3 separate regions of the Homo sapiens genome follow, and regions 2 and 3 are each linked to region 1. Evidence: promoter capture Hi-C in 16 types of primary human blood cells and fetal thymus (Javierre and others, 2016). All regions are on one chromosome and are shown on one strand. Each heading gives the region's core, a stretch centred on a gene start or on the middle of the fragment in contact. The rest is flanking DNA. Distances are from core to core; before and after follow the strand shown.

Region 1 (2,508 bases), core at 4-2,503:
ATTATCAGTATCTAGAGACAGAATTGCTCTGAGGGTGAACTCAGATAAAGGTCTGTTCAAAGTACTTAGCACAGAACCTTGCAGAGGGTTGCCCCTCAGTGAATAATCACTATTATTACTATAACTATCACTGTTATTGTTGTTATTGCTGTTGAGATTATGATGTCAGGCTTTCCAGACACAGAGTATGGTTTCATTTGATTGTCCTACATGTATTAAAGTCCTACTGTGAGCAGGTTACTATTACTAAACTTTAGCTCCTCATGAAATGTTTATCTGGAAGCAGGTGAAAATAATGTGAGTGAATATGTATTACTTTAAAGACCACACCAGGGAAGCTCTTCAGACTTGAAGATAAGACCTTATTGTTTAAACTTGTGTATTTGCTAAGTTAGGCAAAAAATTGCTCTAGAGACTTTTTTGACTAAATTAAACCAAATATCATCAGATGCATGTGTGTACAAAGCCACAATAAACCTGAAAATGTCGCTGGGGAGGCAAGATCTCCTAGCATTTCAGAACAGGCTGATTTGATCATGATTTAGAGAGCTTTTCCATACACTTAGGCTGCTTTCTCTTCCTATGGCTGCAGCACACTTTAGTGGAAAATAAGCCCATAGGTATCTCATTTTTGGGGTGTGTGTGTGTGTGTGTTTTGTCCTCCCACAATAAGAAATCTCATCCTTTCCCATGGGCTCTGATTTTCTCTAACGTAAAGACATCGCTACTACTGTAGATAAAAGCAACACACTGTCAGAATCACAGAGAGCTAAGAGGTTGGACTTTATGTTCCATTTCTATTTTATTTGAAGATAGAAGTTTGATAACTTTCACAGATCTTTTGAGAGTGCATAATATATATAATTATGCTACACATATTGTTCTGCCACATCCAGATGCAAACTTCTAAAGGTGCAGCAGAGTACATCCTGCCACCAGCTGAGAAGGAGAAAGAATTATGGAAGGAGGGAGATAATTCTTGCCTATAAAAAAATGAGTTTACTTTCCTAATAAAATAAATCTAAAATTGGCCATTGTCATTGTATGATGTTAACAACCAGCTCTTTTGGCAAGTTTGAAAATACTGGGCTCCATTATAAAAGCTAAAAATGTCCTGGACCTGGAGTTGTTTACCCAGAGCATGAGCTGCTCTAAAGTTACAGAGCTCTGGTTGGAAGAGGTGGCTTGAAGGCCGCCTCCAAGTAACTGACGTCACAGTAGTCTCAGCTGCTGCTGTGACACTAAGCTGAGCAGCTTTTTGACTTGTAAAAGTGGTGAAGGTTTCAAAGGGACTTGTCAGTACTGCTCTGTGGAATGGTTGGACTTATTTTGCATCCCCTTTTCTTGTAAAGAATCGAGATTCACCGAGCTGAGACTTTTCTCTTTAAGACAGCTAGCCATCCACTTTCTTCCACTGCTAATTGACCAGTGGTCGAGCATCCATAGGATTTCTCCCCAGTGTGAAAGGTATGTTTCTTTCCGGCAAGTTTACAAGCAAGTGACTAATTATGGCAGGATACAAAGGGGCTGCTGTTGAGATGTTTTAAACTATGGATACTGTTTAAGTGGAGTGTAATTTCAACATCTGTCTCTGCTGTTGTCTGTGTCTGGGCTTAAAAACAGTGGGCGGGGTGCATAACAGATTGTACTGACTCCTAGGAAAAAGGCTGTTCAGCTGCTCAGGGTGGATTTCCCAACTGTGGACTGACAGTACCATCCGCTCTTTGAGACTGTTTTTCCAACACTGCTTCTCAGTTGTTTGAAAAGCACTTTGCCCATCATTGATTTTCACTAAGTATATTTATTCAAATGTGATTTTTTTTATTCATATAAAGACTTTTAACATTTGCAAATTAAAGGTCACAATCCTGGAGACTTGGTATTTGAAAATTGCGGTGAAAAATAAATTTTAGTTTTATCTAAGGTGGTGGTGGACTCACTGTAGAGTTAGTGTTTCTGTAATTTGAGCTGAAGTCTATGCCATTCATAATTGAATAATCTACGTTTAGGAGGGAAACTTACCACTATGTCTTTTGTTCACGATGGTTAGTTTTAGACATTTGTTTACTCAAACCAAATGTTTGCTTTTAAAGTTTGCATTTTATAAGTAAAATCAGTGTGCATACAGCTTGGATGTTTTCTAATTTGAGTAAATAACTGTAAAGAAAACAAGGAAGAAGATAATTAAATGAAACGGTAAAGTTGATTCATTCGGAATTGCATGTGGTAGTGTCTCTTTGACCTTGTTGGAGCATGAGGAATGTGCTAAATCAGCAATACACAGCAATGAAAAAAATTTCCCTTTTACTCTAACAAAATCAAATCATGGTGGTCTTTGGAAAGATTCAATTGCAAGTGAACAATAGAGAGGAATGAGATTTATTAATTCATTGAAATAATTCAAGTGATTATAATAGCCTGGAGAAAGGGATAGAGAATTTAGGAGGTAAATGGTACATTACTCTGATAGGTTATAAGCTGGGGAATTCCTAATCCATCAAAGTTAAG
Region 2 (2,508 bases), core at 3-2,502, 300 kb after region 1:
CAAGCTGTACCTTTAACCCTACTTAGCCGTCTTACAAAAACATATTAGCACATCAACATGGTGGTCACAGAAAAAATACATGTATTCACATTGAGACCAAAATGAAATGTAAGCAGAGAAGTTTCATTTTTGCCAGCATTAACAAATGTCTTTGTAATGTGTTAGGAAACTCTAATGAAGACAGCAGCTACTGGTGGTACAAATCACAAAGGTGAAAACTGTTAACAAAGGTGTATGCTTACAAAAGGGCTGATACTCTATGGTCATTACCTTGTGGACTGATATAAACCATTCGGAATATAAGATCTATGATGAAAAGAATTTTGTCTTTTTGGTGTACTGCTTTATCCTCAGCACCTAAGAGTGCCCAGCACATGGTGGAAGTTTAATAAATATTTGTTGAGCGTATGAAGGTATCTTGGCCTCAGATTTTATTTATTCTTCCTGTTCTGCCCTTTACAAATTAGAAAGTACAATAGAAATAATATCCAACACAACATCTCCTGTATCAATAGTTGACTGTTTTTACAAAGGAAGGAAGGAAATTTACAAAGGAAATACAAATCTCTTACTGTATTTCAGACAATAAGAGATTGTTAAGTGAATGAGGAATCACACTAATCTAACTACAAACAAGAGAAAGACCTCTAGGGTAGAATGCAAAAATGGCTATAATTCTCCTCTCCCACCCTGTATATGCATGCCACCTTGCAAAGTAAGTTTGCACCTTCTCCTGCCAAGAGATAAAATCTGTTTCTTCAACTCTTGAATCAGGACTAGGCTTATGACTAGTATAGGCTGACAGAATGTGGTGGAAGTAAAAACTATGCCAGGTTCTGAGCCTAGCCTCAAGAGGAATGACTTCACCTTTTCTACTTTGGAAGGCTGTAGGACCTCTTGCCATCTTGATGATAATAGAAACATGGCAATTTCCTCATTCTCCAGCCATCCAACAATGTGACAGAGCCCAGCCAAGATCAAAATTGCCCAGTAGGTCTCAGCCTTAATTGCCCAGCCACAAATTGTTAAGTAAGTGGTTGTTGTTTTAAGCCTTTATGTTTTGAGGTTATTTGTTATGCAGCAAAAGCTAACTGAAACAATCCTCGTGCACCAGACCTAAACAATGGCAAGATCATTGTTTGCTTAGGAGCTGAAGAATGCTACCACTCTATTCAATAACCTGATCACTGTGTATTATGTCACACTCACCAATGGGTCACAAAGCACTAAATATTTATAAATATCACTAAGTGAAATCTCAGAGAATATAGGCATTTTCAAGGGTCATTTATTACAAAGTTTATTTTAGAATAGGAATGCTGAGGTACACACCAATTAGCAGAAAAGCCTACAAATAATTCTTATACTATCATAGGAATGAAGGGATTGCATGGATGATAATAACAATTAAGTATTTCCCACTGTGAATAATGTCCACCATGATTTTCGACCACCGTTAATAAAATCCCCAAAATCTCAGAGAGCCTACAAAAATGGTATGGAGCAAACTTGGTCTGAATTGTAAGAGGTAGTAACTGCTGGCTGAGTTCTAAAAAATGATATAATATCAAGGAATGCAAGGCATGAAATAAAGTCTTATTTTCTGCAGAGCTTTTTCTTTAATATTGAGAAGTTTAAGAACATACAATAGGATGTAAAATGTGTTAGAGGCAAGAAACTTAAAAACTGTCATTTCATTTTTTTTTCTATATCTATCAAGGTGCTGGCTGTAATTCTGCTGCTTCATTATGACACAGGGGAGTCAATTGTGCATGTCTTCAACCCAAAAACCTAGGCAACAAAGAATCCTCACATAGATCCTGCTATTATAATGTCAATGCCAGAGGAAACAATAAGAGGTGGGGCCTATCACTGAGGCATTAAATGTTTTCACCTACATGGATAATAAATTCTGATACTTGTCCACTGAATTTACAAGGTGATTTGATGTTTCAGTGATTAAATTGGAGGTGGTGGGAAAGAAAAAAAAAAGGAATAAGGGTTGAGTAATATAGCTAAGGAGAAAAAAATATCAAATAAAAACAGAGAATAAGTCATATGTGACCATGATTAAAGAGCATCTGAAGACCAAACATGTTTTTATGAGAGACTTTAAAGATGAGTAGTGAGGTAGGAGGTAGGGCTTGACTCACAAAGTGAGACTTGACTCTGGAGGCAGGGTTCAGACACCAGACCAAATTGAGGACTAATTAAAACAGGCATGGAGTGGAAGCACCTTTCTAAAAGACACACCCACCAATGTGCCATGTCAGTTTGCCATTGCCATGGCAACACCCAGAAGTTACCACCCCTTTCCATAGCAACAACCCAATGACGTAGAAGTTACCACCCTTCTCCTAGAAATTTCTGCATAATGTGCCCCTTAATTTGCATCTAATTAAAAGTGGGTATAAATGTGACTGCAGAACTTCCTCTGAGATGGTACTCAGGGCACAATGCCTATGGGGTATCCCTGCTCCATAAGGAGCAGTACCTCTGCTGCTGCTG
Region 3 (2,508 bases), core at 7-2,506, 280 kb after region 1:
AGTCCAGGTTGGAACAGAGAAGTTAGAAAGAATTCCATTCTCTTGTTTCCAGAAGGCATTTGAGTTCTAGGACAGTTTTAGTGATTTGAAGACTTCAGAGTTTCCCTGAGGTTGGGAGTGTGGATCAGAGTCCATCTCTCAGCCCAAAGCTGGAAAACAGTGGTCTACCAAAAAGTTTTTGCGATTGTTTGGAGAAAAAGAGGTGGTCAGGAAGAGGAACAAATAACAAGAGAAATAGAGGAAGAGAGGAAAGCACTTGGGATGGTTGTCAAAAGTTGAAAGATGACAAAATAACCTTGTCTTCCTTAATTATCTTCTATAGCAAGCATAAATGATGCTTTATTTGGTGGAGTTGAGAATGTAGTCTTCCTTTAAAGTCATGAAATATGATTCTAGCCCATCTTGCCTGATCTTGGGGCTTTTGTATCCTCTTTTGAAGTGGCACTACACAGTCTCAGAAGCCTGACTTCCCCTTGAGTTTCGAATAACTGTGGCTTTTGTTGTAATCCATTGAATTTTTCTTTCAGTGGAATGCCACCAAAATGGACCACTGGGTAGTATGATGAAACTTTCCATTTAAGAGGGTGTAGCAAGGACAGCAGATGTTATGTGCAATGCAATTAATGGGAAGAGAAAGTCTCAGGAAAGGCTTAAGCAAATGAGCTGAAAATTAAAGGAAATGTGACAATTCCTGAAAGAATGAACACTGTCTTACTCAATCTCTAAGAACACTGTCTTAATCTCTAAAATAAATATTTCTCATTTAATTGAAGTATTTAAGAACGAAATAAAGTGACCCTGGAAAAAAGAAGGCCAGATGAAATAGATAGAAAAAAGTTTTAAAGGGGTAAAGAGCTTGAAATAGCCCATATGTTTGGTTTTTATTTTCTGAGCAAAGTAAACTTCATATATACCTTAAGACCTAGTTAAGGTAATGCTATAGTTTAGATATTTGACCCTGCAAATGTCATGTTGAAATTTGAGCGCAAATGTTTGGGGTGGGGCCAAATGGGAGGTGTTTGGGAGTCATTGGAGTGGGTCCCTCATGAATGACTTGGTGCCATTCTCATGGTAATGAGTGAGTTCTCACTCTATATTAGTTCCTAGGAGAGTTTCCCAGAGAGCTGCTTGTTAAAAAGAGCCTGGCACCTTCTCTCTCTCTCCATTCTCTCACACACTCTCTCTTTTCTTCTCTAGTCATATGATCTGCACGTGCCAGTTCCCCTTTTCCTTCTGTCATGAGTGGAAGCAGCCTGAGGCCCTCACCAGAGTCAGATACTGGTGCCATGCTTCTTGTACAGCCTGCAGAACTGTTAGCCAAATAAACCTCTTTTTTTGAATGAATTACCCAGCCTTAGGTATTCTGTTATAGCAATACAAAAATGTACTGAGACAGGTAGAAACGGGGATACGTGATCAATGACTGTATATAAGCCATTCCCTTATCTCCAGAGAATATTTAGGAGAAAGAGTAGTAGTCAAGAAGTGACTTCAAATATTGGGGAGTGAAAATACTGAAGGAAAGCAGAAGTAAGGTTGGCTTACTTGTTTATCTCTTATGTCAGAATTTGGGGAGAGGAAGGTGAATCCCTTTTTTGTCCATTACATCTTGCCCACCCTTAATCAAGCACACTTTTGGATCCTGCAAGGTCTGCTGGAACTTTTAAACTGCAGAGGATTTAAGGAGTTAAGCACAAAATGTCTCTGAGGAAGCCTTCCCTGAGTATGAATGGGTCTGGGTGTGGGTGTGTGAATCAACCCTAACAAACTGAAAACAATACCGGGTGATTTCTAAAAATTAGCAACTCTTTTCAGGCATCACTGAATAACCTCACAAATGATTTGCACTACTGCTAACAACACCTGGTAAGCAGCTGTATTATCTATGTATGATAATATATTTAACATATTTATATATGGGGTACTGTATTTGTATATTTTACTGTATAGTTTTTAAGTATCTTGAAGATCACCCCTTACCTACATACATCATTCAAGATACATTTTAAAGGCTACTTCTCTATTAATTCTTCCCTGATCTTCTCCAGCAGGTGAGGAGGGATGCAGTAATGTATAGCTGCTATGACCTTGGGCTTTGAAGTTAGAAAGATCTGAGTTTGATTTTCTGTCAAGCTATTTAGTCATAGTCTATCTTTGGGGGATATTACTTAAACTCTCAAGACCTCATCTTTTAAAATGTGTGCTTAAAAAAAGTGGGACATTAAATTTTAAATATCTGAAATAGGTATCAGGAAACGTGCATTTTAAACTTGGCTATATTACTCATCAGCAATATGACCTTAAGTAAAGCACTTTCTGTGCTTTGTTTGCCTCATTTATAAAATAGAATCAATAATTCCTACTATTCTCATTATTTGGGGTAGGTATGAGAAACAAATGATATATAAGTAGTTGAAAATGAAAAGAATTCTAAAATTATAATCCCTAAAATAAAAATAATTAGTAACAATAATAAATGGTCTCTATGAAACTATAAAACAGCTGAGT

What was found. Contacts are between HindIII fragments. The CHiCAGO score rates a contact against its expected background, and 5 or more counts as called.
Region 2: a contact is called between a fragment that was not itself captured here and the fragment with the promoter of KIAA0408 in region 1, in 1 of 17 cell types (neutrophils). The highest score is 5.0, in neutrophils.
Region 3: a fragment that was not itself captured here is called in contact with the fragment with the promoter of KIAA0408 in region 1 in 2 of 17 cell types (monocytes and neutrophils); the score reaches 5.9 in monocytes.

Annotation. Positions count from the first base shown.
Region 1 is chr6:127,458,134-127,460,641 of GRCh38, reverse strand. KIAA0408 reads left to right here and starts at 1,253. Exons shown (of 6, transcript NM_014702.5): 1 at 1,253-1,467. All of the region lies in intron 7 of SOGA3-KIAA0408 (SOGA3-KIAA0408 readthrough), which reads left to right. The HindIII fragment of the contact is 12,466 bases long and covers 1-2,508 here.
Region 2 is chr6:127,160,476-127,162,983 of GRCh38, reverse strand. The region is part of intron 4 of RSPO3 (R-spondin 3); the gene reads right to left. All of the region lies in intron 3 of LOC105377989 (a long non-coding RNA gene), which reads left to right. Among named protein-coding and RNA genes, the nearest start is that of RSPO3, 43 kb to the right of the region's middle. The HindIII fragment of the contact is 2,870 bases long and covers 1-2,508 here.
Region 3 is chr6:127,180,742-127,183,249 of GRCh38, reverse strand. The region is part of intron 4 of RSPO3 (R-spondin 3); the gene reads right to left. The region is part of intron 1 of LOC105377989 (a long non-coding RNA gene); the gene reads left to right. Among named protein-coding and RNA genes, the nearest start is that of RSPO3, 63 kb to the right of the region's middle. The HindIII fragment of the contact is 7,451 bases long and covers 1-2,508 here.